3 separate regions of the Homo sapiens genome follow, and all the other regions are linked to region 2. The links are contacts of gene promoters, found by promoter capture Hi-C in blood cells and fetal thymus (Javierre and others, 2016). All regions are on one chromosome and are shown on one strand. The core of a region is centred on a gene start or on the middle of the fragment in contact, and the rest is flanking DNA. Distances in the headings are between cores, read along the strand shown.

Evidence for each region. The method cuts DNA at HindIII sites, captures the fragments that hold promoters and counts their contacts. A CHiCAGO score of 5 or more calls a contact.
Region 1: a contact is called between the fragment with the promoter of ADRM1 here and the fragment with the promoter of LAMA5 in region 2, in 2 of 17 cell types (endothelial precursors and naive B cells). The highest score is 6.8, in endothelial precursors.
Region 3: a contact is called between a fragment that was not itself captured here and the fragment with the promoter of LAMA5 in region 2, in 4 of 17 cell types (endothelial precursors, megakaryocytes, total B cells and 1 more). The highest score is 6.7, in endothelial precursors.

Annotation. Positions count from the first base shown.
Region 1 is chr20:62,301,689-62,305,692 of GRCh38, reverse strand. ADRM1 (ADRM1 26S proteasome ubiquitin receptor) reads right to left here and starts at 2,696. Exons shown (of 10, transcript NM_007002.4): 1 at 2,644-2,696; 2 at 1,912-2,125; 3 at 1,116-1,232. The coding sequence starts at 2,124. RefSeq lists silencers at 2,587-3,046, 3,067-3,186. The HindIII fragment of the contact is 19,122 bases long and covers 1-4,004 here.
Region 2 is chr20:62,364,995-62,368,622 of GRCh38, reverse strand. It overlaps LAMA5 (laminin subunit alpha 5), which reads left to right and starts at 1,311. Exons shown (of 80, transcript NM_005560.6): 1 at 1,311-1,674. The coding sequence starts at 1,378. RefSeq lists a silencer at 1,188-1,627 and enhancers at 1,807-2,506, 3,205-3,628. The HindIII fragment of the contact is 18,996 bases long and covers 1-3,628 here.
Region 3 is chr20:62,278,647-62,282,507 of GRCh38, reverse strand. It overlaps OSBPL2 (oxysterol binding protein like 2), which reads right to left. Exons shown (of 14, transcript NM_144498.4): 7 at 3,169-3,351; 8 at 1,343-1,450; 9 at 629-718. Among named protein-coding and RNA genes, the nearest start is that of ADRM1, 22 kb to the left of the region's middle. RefSeq lists an enhancer at 3,075-3,575. The HindIII fragment of the contact is 1,436 bases long and covers 1,660-3,095 here.

The DNA.
Region 1 (4,004 bases), core at 1,447-3,946, 64 kb after region 2:
CTGGGAGCAGAGCACCCACGCACACCCCGAATGGCTATGGAAGCTGCAGGGCGCCAGGGACACTGGGAGTCCCTGCTCTCATGGCAAAGCAGGGACGGGGGACTTAAAAGCCACCAACAGGAAAATCGGGGAAAAAAGGGAGATGGTGGTAACAGTTGGACACTATTTCTTGGCAAAACCGTGGAAAAACACGTTCTACACCAGCAGGTGGCAAATTGTGGCCGCCATCTGTGTTTGCAAATAAAGTTTAACTGGAGTTTGGCTATGCCTGTTCATTTTCTCAGGCCGCTGCACACTACTTGCACAGGTGACCAGCAACACAGACCATGTGCTCCACAGAGACCTCAGCCAGGGCCACCCCTGCTCTTGAAAGTGCCAAGGGGGGTGGGGTGGGGACAGCAGCTCCACCTCTGGCAGAGAGCATGGCCTTCTCTCTCCACACTGCAAACGCATGCACACGCTTCCTGACCACAGGCCCGCCACCAGTTTTCACCTACAGATGATACTGGCTTATGGAAAATGATCTGTGTACCGGGAAATTCTTTGCAACACTGCCTGTAACAGCACAAAAAACGGCAACAAGCTCAATGGTCACTGACAGATGGCAGAATGAGCAGCGGCCTCTAGACCCAAAAGACGCTCTGCAGCTGTGGGTAAGAGAAACCCTGGGCACTGACACCCCTGGCCTCCAGGACACACTGCCAGGGAAGGGGCAGGACTGTGGAAAGTGTGAGCAGGATGCTTCGTTTCTGTGAGCACCAGCAGGGAAGCCACACAGGGGCCTCTGCCTCTGCTGTGGGGGCCTCAGTGACCCACGGCAAGGGGCAGAGAGAGGGCACTGGGCATCGTTAGAACCAGGGCCAGCATGTCTGTCTGCCTGGAAATTTCACACCGCAATCGGTTGCCCGCAGCCCAGCCTGGAGCCTCCGTACTCTGGGAGAGGACCTCGGCCCCAGGTAGCATGCACCGCAGCCCTGAGGTGGCATCTCAGGCCGTGTGGCCGGGTGTGGCCGGCGCCTGCTGGTTTATAAAAGCCAATTGCACCACACTGTAAGCAAGTTCCTAACCGAATCGCAGGGCAACAAAAAGGCACAACCCCAAGGCCTGCCCCATACCTGCATCCAGAAGAAAAGCCGCTTGGACCCTGCCTTGAACTTCAGCACGTAGACCCTCCCGCTGGGGCACTGCGGCACCCGCTTGAACTCACAGTCGTCAGGGAAGATGATCAAGTCCTGGCAAGCCAGGGGAAGAGAGAGTCAGTGGCGCAGATGGCATCACTGTGCCCAGTCTCAGGAGAGCGTACTGAGCCCTGGGTCTAACCGGGTGGGGTGCGCAAGGGGCAGCTAAGCCGCCAGACCCCTCGCTGGCAGGGTCTCCACAAGGCAGAGAAGCCAGGGTCAGAGACAGCCCATGAAAGGCAAGGCCGGGGGAGAGAGCAGGGAAAGGGGCCTTTCAGATGGCAACGGGGTTTCTGAGACGTGCTGGAAACAACATTCCCAGAGTAGTTAAAAAGTCAACGCTGAACTGCTCTCAAATGTAACAAAGAACAACTAAGAGTTTGAAAAACAAAGAAGACTGAGTGAAGCCGCCAGGCACAGAGCTCCAGGCTCTCCAGGGCCACACCTCCAACCCCAGGCACCTCACACGGACAGTTCAAGGCCAGGCACAGAGCTCCGGGCTCTCCAGGGCCACACCTCCAACCCAGGCACCTCACACGGACAGTTCAAGATACACAGTGGCCGAGATGCCCCTGTCACCGCGGAAACCAGGACGACCCATCAGCAGGGCAGTCGATGACGGCCCCACGAGCGGTCCCCAGATGCGGCCAAGCCCCCACCGCGAACTCCAAAGCGAGGACTCCGAGGGCCCGAGAAGTCGCCTGTCCTGCTGCTGCGGCTCAGGGACACTCACGTCTTCCACGTTCCCGGACGTCCTGTCCTTCCAGCAGAAGTGAATAAGCGAGTCGTCCGTCTGCTGAATGTACACCAGCCCTTTCCGCTTATCCGGAGTCACGGTGGTCCCCTTCAGGGACATCTTTCCCGCCCGAAACTCCACCAAGTACTTGTTGGAGGCGCCCCGAGAGCCTGGCACCAGGCTTGGAAAGAGCGCGCCTGAGGTCGTCATCCTGAAAGCGCGGAGAGGACGCTGAGACGCGGCGGTCACTGTCGCCTGCGGTCCGGCAAGCTCCCGCCCCCTGGGGTGTTTGCGAGCAGGGGGCCTGCGCCCAGAGCTGCCTAAGGCAGACTCAGACACGCCGGGCTGCCTTTCCGCGTTTGCCCCGCTCACGACGATCGCACCGCCCGCACTCGGCGCTGGGCCGGGGCAGCCCCGCCAAGCCTAGTGGGGCCGGCCCTAGGCTTGACGCCGTCTCCGCGGGGCACCAGCCTCGACGCGCCACCCCGGCGACCCGCTCCGCGGGGCAGACCCGCCCGAGCTCCCGCCGAGCCCCACGTTCAGAGCCGCAGGCGGAACCGGGGCGGCGCCCGAGACCCCAGAACCCCCGCCCGGCCCGGCCCCCGCAGGCCCCACCCGCCGCGCCGGCCACCTTCTCGTCTTGGCTGCCCCCGCCCCATCCTTGGTCCAGCAGCCCCTGCCCCCGCCTCCGGTCGCCCCCGGCCGCCCCAGGCCCGGCGACTCCCGCACCTGCCTCGCGCCCACACTCGTTCGAGAGGCGCCGTCCGGGCTCGCTCTTCCTCCTCGGCGCCTGCCGGGCCCCGCCGGAAACCCGCGTTCGGCCCGCCCCGCCTGCCGCTCTCGCCGCCGATTGAGCCCCGTAAGCCGCGCAGCCGGCTCTAACCTGCCAACGATTGGCGAGGGCGACCGTCCATCGCACTCGCTCCTCCCCGGTCCGCCCCCGCGCCGGCGGCTCTTTTCCGGCGGAAGCGCGGGCCGCAGGGCGCTTGGACCAGAGCGGCCCCTATTGTTGCTGTGTCATAGGGGAGCGGCGGCGGCCCCTAGAGGCGGCGCCAGGGACCACAGGCGGGTTTCAGAGGGGCGCTGGGGAACTGCTCAGGTGGGGCCGAGCCCACCCCTCGGCGTCGCCCGCCCGGGCGGGCAGAGCTGTCACTCGTGTGGCTGAGCCAGGGGTTAGGCGGAGGCCGAGGAGTGCGGTCCGGCTGTGGGCGGCGGGCACCAGGGCTACGCATAGAAGTGACCATGGGTTCAGCGCTTTGGGGACCCAGGCGGGAGCTGGAGTCCACGCGTCCGGGAGAGCAGGGGTCCGGGAGGGTAGAGCGAGGGTGAGAACCGTGATATGGTCTCAGCTGTATACATCTAGTCCCGCAGGGGTCCGGGAGGGCAGGGGTCAGGAAGGGGTGGGTCCGGGAGGAGAGGGGTCCCGAGAGGGGAGGGGCTCCTGGAGGGGAGGGATCTGGGAGGGGTGAGTCCGGGAGGGGAGGGGTTCCCGGAGGGGAGGGGGCCCGGGAGGGGAGAGGGTCCCGGAGGGGAGGGATCTGGGAGGGGTGAGTCCGGGAGGGAGGAGTCAGGGAAGGCCTGAGTCCCAGACGGGTAGGGTCCTGGAAGGGAGGGGTCCTGGAGGGCAGGGGCTCACCCTCTGGACGCCTGGATGGGAAAGGCCACAGGGTAAAAAGGCGGCAGTCGCCCGCCAGTGTTGTGTAACTTTGAGTCACTTTGACACAAACTAAAGCGAAGACAACAGATAGTGTTTGTGGCGCCCCAGCCGGCTGCTGAAGGGACACGTTCTTTGGGATTTGCCTACAGCGACGCCAGGCGGGGGCTCTTAGAGGGCTCAGGCGCGGTGGCTCACGCCTGTAAACCCAGAACTTTGGGAGGCCGAGGCGGGCGGATTACTTGAGGCCAGGAGTTCAAGACCAGCCTGGGCAACATGGTGAATGAAACCCCGACTCTACTAAAAATGCAAAAATTAGCCAGGTATGCTGGCACATGCCTGTAATTCCATCTACTCAGGAGGCTGATGCACGAGAATCGCCTGAACCCGGGAGGTGGAGGTTGCAGTGAGCCGAGATTGCACCACTGCACTCCAG
Region 2 (3,628 bases), core at 62-2,561:
AAGAATTGCCGGGCCGGAAAGTAGGAGGAGGGAGAGAGGGTCCCATCGCCCTCCCGACTCCGTAGAGAAAGGGCCATACACCCTCTTGGGATTTGAGATTTGCAGGAGGCCAGGGCGCCAGGAAGGTGTGCAAGGAGGTGCACCCTCCAGGGACAGCTGCTAGCTCAGAACCCCCACCAGAACCGGCTGGCCAGTGCCCCACAAACCCACCCAGCCCCCCGGGACTGTCCAGGGAACCCAGCGAGAGATGAGCCCCACAGCCCATCTGGGACCATGGCCCGCCCAGCTGGCCTGGCTCAGGGATGGGGGTTTGCTGCCAGCTCGGCAGCTGCAGCCCCACCCCGCCGCCACCCCCTCGGGGCTTCCCTGGAGGCAGATTTGGCCCCGGAGCCCAAGGGAAGTAGGAGACCCAGGGCCGCAGCCACCCAAAGGCAGACGAAGACCTGATCTCGGCCTCTAGGTCCTGTGCTGTTTGCCAGGCGTCCTCGAGCCGCCGATCGTGGCAGGAACGCGTGCGCGGCTGTGCAGCGGGTTGGAGGCCAGGCCGAGAGAGCTGGTGGAGTCCACCGGGCCCCGGAGCACAGGTGCTTCCAGGCACCCAGCAGGTGCTCAGCAGCTGTGACCAGAGCCCCCGACCTCCTTAAGAGCCAATTTGGCGGCTGTGGGGCCATGAGCACCGCCCCCGTCCTCTAAAGGGGGCTGCAGCTGCAGGCCAGTCCCTCCTGCCCCTATTTCCCTATCTGAGAGTATTTTTAAGCCCTGCTGGGGCAGGCGGGAGCCAGGCCGAGTTGAACCTGACCTGGCTGCCCCAGGAAGCAGGGGGTTCCCACCTAGGCTGCCCCGTTCCTCTGCAGATGGTCATTCGCGGGTGCAGAGGGCACCTTCCCGCAGCCAGCAGGACGGACGCTGTTGGGGGAGGAGCGGGGGCAGCCGAGTGGTGCACCCAAGTTAGGGGAACAAAGAGTGGGCCCCTGGGCTGGGAGGAGCTGGTGGGCGCTCTGGGGGCCAGGGCGTCGTGGGGAGCGCTAGGGTCCCACCCGGGACCCGGAGCTACGACCTGGGCTGGGGGCCCGGCGGCGCCGTCGTCCCACGGCCTGGCCCGAGGCCAGCAGGTGCCCCTTCCGGGAGGCGGCCGGGCCGGGGTCCGAAGGGTTAAGGCCGCCCGGCCGCCCCTCCCCCTCCTCTCTCCTTCCCCCCCCCACCCCGCCTCCCCGGACCTCTCCCCGGGGCTCGGGGCTCGGGCGCTCGGGCGGGCCGGGGCGGGGCCTGACGTCCGCGGGCGGAGCGAGCCCTGCCGGCCGCCTGGCTTCAGACCCGCCGGGCTCCCGCCGCGCGCGCTGTCCCTGGAGCTCGGGGACGCGGCCCGGAGCCGGGAAGATGGCGAAGCGGCTCTGCGCGGGGAGCGCACTGTGTGTTCGCGGCCCCCGGGGCCCCGCGCCGCTGCTGCTGGTCGGGCTGGCGCTGCTGGGCGCGGCGCGGGCGCGGGAGGAGGCGGGCGGCGGCTTCAGCCTGCACCCGCCCTACTTCAACCTGGCCGAGGGCGCCCGCATCGCCGCCTCCGCGACCTGCGGAGAGGAGGCCCCGGCGCGCGGCTCCCCGCGCCCCACCGAGGACCTTTACTGCAAGCTGGTAGGGGGCCCCGTGGCCGGCGGCGACCCCAACCAGACCATCCGGGTGAGCGCAGGGGCGGGCCGTGGGGCTTCCTCCCGGGGCACTCGGACCCGGAACACCGGCCCGACCCCAGGGGGAGCGCCGTGGCCCGGGGCGAGTCCAGGTGCGGACTCTCTGGTTCCGCATTTTGGGGGCCCAAGAAGGCACCCCGACCCGGCCGCTCCGTCTCGGCCGGGAAACTTCGCGTCCCTCCGGGAAGGCGGAATTAAAGTCCCCGGCATGGACCCGGGGGCGGCTGGGCGCCGGTCCAGTTCGACTGCGGTGACCGGGGCGGGAGGGGGGCCGGGCCCAGTCCCTGGCGGCCCCAAGTCCGGGATCCCGGGGAGGGCGGGACTTGGCCTCCGCCGCCTGCTGCCGGTGGGGAGGGGGCGCAGCTCCGCCCTACCCGGGACAGGCTGGAACCTGTTGGCCTCTGGATGGGGTGGGAGGGGCCAGCCACCTGAGGCTCCCACTAGCCCCTCTCGGAGGAGTCTAGGGACTCGAGGAGACCTCCAAAGTAGGGGAGGGCCAGCTGCGAAGTTTTGACTGGGGCTGGGAACACGTGGCTCCCAGGAGGGGCAGCATCTCTGCCCAGCAGGTGGTAGGGTCCGGGGGCTTCAGTCTCCCTGGGAGATGTGGGTTCAGGCCCTGAAGACCCCCTGGGGTGCATGTCCCCTCCCCAACAAGCCTTAAACCTGTAGGCGGGTTCTGTTGGTGGACTCCATGCATGGACACCTCACCTGAAAACCAAGGCTCTTGGGGCCCTGTAGACTTAGGTTGGGCCTGGGGTCAGCCTTGGGTGAGGAGCAGCAAAGTCAGCTCCAACGGCTCCCAACCGGCCGCTCTAGGCCCATTCCCCACCTCAGCCCCACCTTAGGGAGAGTCTAGGGGCCCTGAGGGCCTGTGTAACCTGAGCTGTCTCCTCCCTGGTACCTCTGCCTTCCCGGAAGGAGAGGCTGGGGCAGGGGCGAGTAGCTGGAGATTTGCTGGGTGGGGGCAGAGGGCCCTGGAGCAAGACGTTATGGGGATGAATGGAGGAGCCTGGGCTGGGCCCGCCCCCTCTGCCTGCCCCACCCCCTTGGCCCTGGTGGAGGGGGAAGGAGCCTCCCCAGGCTTCTGGGCTCACCGTTCTCTCCTTAAGCCCAGCACAGTCCTCTGAGATAGGAGGTCTCAAGCCCACACTTCAGATGGGGGATCTGAGCCCTGGAAAGCTGCTGACACCTGCTTGGAGCCCCCCAGCCAGAACAGGGTCCAGCGGGGGTTAGCTGTGGGAACCTGGGTGCCTCCTGGCTGCCCCCTTATCTGGTCAACTCAGAGGGGCCGGGTCTCAGGACGGAGGGCCTGTGACTGTCTCCTTACCTGCTGCCACACCTCACCACAGAGGGCCTGGCTGAGTGTCCCCAGCTGAGATTTTGCCGTTCTGGCAGGGGAGGCTCCAGGTGCCCTGTGAACCTCAGACCACCCCCCCACAGCCTGCCCATGCTGCGTGGCTGGGGGCCACAGGCCCCCTCTCAGATCTGTCTCCTCTGTGGGGGCTTATTACCCCCGTCTCGTGAGTAAAGGGCCAGCCTGTAGTCAACGCCCCTCTCCTCTGCCTCAGCTGTGTGGCTTCCCTCTGTCAGCCTCAAGCTGTCTTTAAAATGGGCACAGCGTGCTGGCCCCCCTCACCTGAGACTGTGAGCTTGGCCCGAGGAGCCTGGGAAGTGGCCACAGTTTCAGTGGCAGCTGTGGGCTGTGGTGCTCCATGCCTCAGAGCCAGCTTGGATGAGAAACCAGCCGGCCTCGCCCAGCTCATGTCTAGCAATAGAGGTGAACCCTTCGCTTCCAAAGTCTCGAGCTCTGAGCAGTGAGTGCCCGCTGAGGCTGCCAGATATGTAGAAAGATCAGCTGGTAGACGTGAGCTGGACGGGTATGACCTTGGATGCCTCCTTCATCTGAGAGCCGCGGGTCTGCTGACCGCCCTGGCCGCGGATTGGGC
Region 3 (3,861 bases), core at 1,128-3,627, 87 kb after region 2:
ACATTTTTGGAACTAGAAGGAACTTCATGACATTCTATGGCTCAAATTCCTTACGAAAAAAACAAATGTGAGACCCAGATTACAAAGTAATTAACCCAAATGGGGAGAAAAAAACTGAAAAATTTGTTGGAACAGTACTGACCATTTCTCTGCTCACAAAAACTTGCGAAAGTCCCTGATTTAAAGACTGGAGTGAACTGGTCACGTGACACTGACGCCCCTCAAGCTAACACATTTGAGTCTTGCCTGACAACGTGCATGGGGTGCTGGTAGAAGGAAAACGCAAGGCCACACTTCCCACCCACCTCAGCTCTGCTGCGAAACAGTCCCCTCTCATCTCCCAGTGGAAATAGCTGACTTCTCAAGACAATTTTATCAAAAGAAGATGGCCCCAGTAACAAGCCACCTAGAAACTACATTCAAAAATACCCTTTATTTCCTTTTATGCTCAATAACAAAATGTCTTTCCAAAACAAAAAAGAGTCATACTTCTGGACCATGAACAGATGGCACTGGTGTACCCGCGTCTCATGCACGTAGGCACACGCAGGCCCAGGAGCACCTGAGCCCTTCTAACGTGGACACACAGGCTGTAGTGGTGCCCCATGAACACTTGGCAAGGACCTACTTTTTGTCTTGAATGTGTCCTTCCACCTTGTGAAGTTCTTTTCCAAATAATCCACACGGTTTAAAGTGAAGCACACACTTATGTCCAGTTCTGTGAGAAAAACAAACACAGGTTTCTGCTGCAAGACAGCAAACAGCCGGAAAGGGTAACTCTGTAACAGGAGAAGCGCGGTGGAGGCCCCTGGGGCAGGCGGGGGGTGACTGCAAATGGGTGTGGTGGGCCTTTGGGGCGATGGAAGTGTTTGAAATGGGCTGTGGGGACGGCTCCATGATTCGGTCAATTTACTAAAAATCACTTAAGTGTCCATTCAGAATGGGCGAGTCTTATGATGCATCGATTATACCTCACTAAAGTGGTGAAAAGGCAAAGCCCACCAGTCATGAGCTTCCAGGAATAGGGCATTCAAGCCTAGACAGTGGCCAACGGCCGTGGACGGCCACTGCGCTGCACCTGGCAATGACACAGCTCTTCAGCATAGCTCAAAGCCTTAAAGTAACAACCGTGACGAAAAACGAGGTCTTGAACGAGGAGCATTCATGGCCAACACCGGTCAGAGTCAAGTCTAGGCAGCTGCTATGCCTGGGCTGGCGGGGACACGGCAGCAGCTCGTGAGGCTGAGCTAAAACCCACCAGGAGCACGGATGCTCACGCTCCCCGGCTCGCCCATCCCCACCCGGAGCCTCGCGCTCTCACCCAACGGTGGGGTGCTGTCACCTGTGGTTTAAAATCTCCACTGTCCCATACTGCTCTATCCACAGCTTCCCGATGATGACGTTGTGGACGCAGCAGGTGGGGTTGGTCCAGGTGTAGGCTTCATTATGTCTGTGAAGACACCAGAAAACAAGCAGTGAGAGTCCAGAAAAGCCAAGACACGACGTGACCCAAGACGCAACGACCAGGCGGGGCTGGGTCACAGCAACCGGCACCCGCGGGAGAGCAGCACGCTGCTTTGAAGCCCCTGCGACGGAGGCTGTGTATTTAGCATGCGTTTGAAATGTACTTCTTCTTTCCTTTGTAGCATCTACAAAGCTTTCTACTTAAATGTCAAGACAAGTTAATAAGCAATCAAAGAAGACTGAACAAAGACAAATGGCTTTCCTGTGAAGTCGTCAAAAGAAAGGCCACCTCACGAAACACACACGGCAGTAATGCAGGGTCCTGGGCATGCGGCCCTGGCTTTCTGGGGAGCTGGCACATGGCTGTGGAGGGGTGCAGGGTTTTCAACCGCACTCCACATACTTGTTTCCTTTACTCCTCATCCTCCCAAATGGCCCTGCCCAAGAAGAAAACACCCCACCAATGTGAGGCAGCAGATCAGCAGCCCTATGTTCTAAGGTGCTACGTGGGGGAGCCACAGTGAAGGCAGAAATCTGCTCAGAGCAGGGTATTTTGCCACACGTCTGGAATTCTCTCAATTTCCTGGGGGTGGAACCCAAACTGGTTCATCAGCAAGGTTATCAGCAAGGTGTGCAACTTTATCAGCAAGGTGTGCAACTTCTCATTTCTGCATGCCTCTTAATTAAGCAAGGCCACTGCACAACAGGCACTCGGCCATACCAGCCCCAGGACACACTCTCAGGGGCTTCTCCAGGTCCTTGTGGAACCTTCTAGCCACCATCCAGGCAGGGCCAATGTGAAGCAAAACCCAAATCAAATGCTTCATCAGGCAAGGTGTCGTTTATTACTTATTTCTGTATGTATTTGTTAGGACCTGCTGCCTACAACAAGACTGCAGGCAGTGGCTTGGCAAGACTCACGTCTCAGAACTGGTGGCCCAGGAGGACGCCAGCATCCGGTCTGTGTCTGTCGGGTCTTAGCGGCCGGCATTTGTTGGAGACTTGTGTTTTGCTCTGAGGTGTCTTTGGTTGACACTGGATTGGGGAGCATTTAGGCTGAGAGTGAAGAGGGGTGGCAAGCAGCCTCTCAGAGGGTCCCCTCCCACGCTGTTTCAAATTCCAACCCTAAGTCACCCCTGCCACATGAGCACAGGGTGGGGGAGTGTGCAAAGGGCCACTTCCCTGGCTTCCTTCTCAGCTCTCTCCCCCTGTGGGAGGCAGTGCCCTGCAGCAAGCAGCCCAGAAGGGGAGCCAGGACACAGGCGCCATGGGCAACCCAACCCTCATTGCCACCGCAACCTCACGGTCCCCGGCCCTCAGACACCTGCCAGCCTGGTGTGGAAGCTGCTAAGTTTGGGACAGTTATGCAGCAAAAGACAAGAAATACAATGAATGATGCCGGAAAGCGGGGTGAGTTCCAACTGCAGACGTGAGGATGCACCCCAGCAACATGGGACCCTGGTCATACAATGAATGATGTGACCGAAAGGGGGGCGAATTCCAACTGCAGACGTGAGGACGCACCCCAGCAACACGGGACCCTGGTCAGGAAGCTCATCTGAAGACGTTTCTGCTGTGGGGAGGTCCCCACCTCAGGAGAAAAATGACAGGGTTTCCTCCTGAAGGAAGCTTTCCCTCCACATCACCAGCACCCATTTCAGTTTCTGCAGGAAGCGGATCTCAGCAGGACGCACCGACACTCACTTGAGCAGCTCCAGGGTGATGGTGCCTCGGGGCTCCGCCTCCACGCTTTTGCCCCAGAACTTGAGCTTGGGGTAGATGGAGCCATGGAACAGGAAGTCATGGTTGAGACCTTCCGAGTGGAACGCACTGATGGGGGGGTGGTGACTGACCTGTTCCGATATAAATCTGAATCCTAAATCTTCCCTAGGTCAAAGAATAAAAAAGAGAGACACATTAATGGCAGCAAAATAAAAGAAAGGGCAGCTCAGACATCATGTGGAGCCCCTCACAGGACGCTGGGAAGCAGGGGCCCTCCATGCCACAACATGTGGCGGAAACACCCAACACCACCTCTCCGACATTGCACTTGGCCTAACGTTGGCAACAGACACACACACAAACATGACATCGCACTTGGCCTAACGTTGGCAACAGACACACACACACAAACATGACATTGCACTTGGCCTAACGTTGGCAACAAACACACACACAAACATGACATCGCACTCGGCCTAACGGCAACAGACACACACACAAACACGATATCGCACTCGGCCTAACGTTGGCAACACACACACAAACATGACATCGCACTCGGCCTAACGTTGGCAACACACACACAAACATGACATCGCACTTGGCCTAATGTTGGCAACAGACACACACACACAAACATGACATTGCACTTGGCCTAACGTTGGCAACACACAC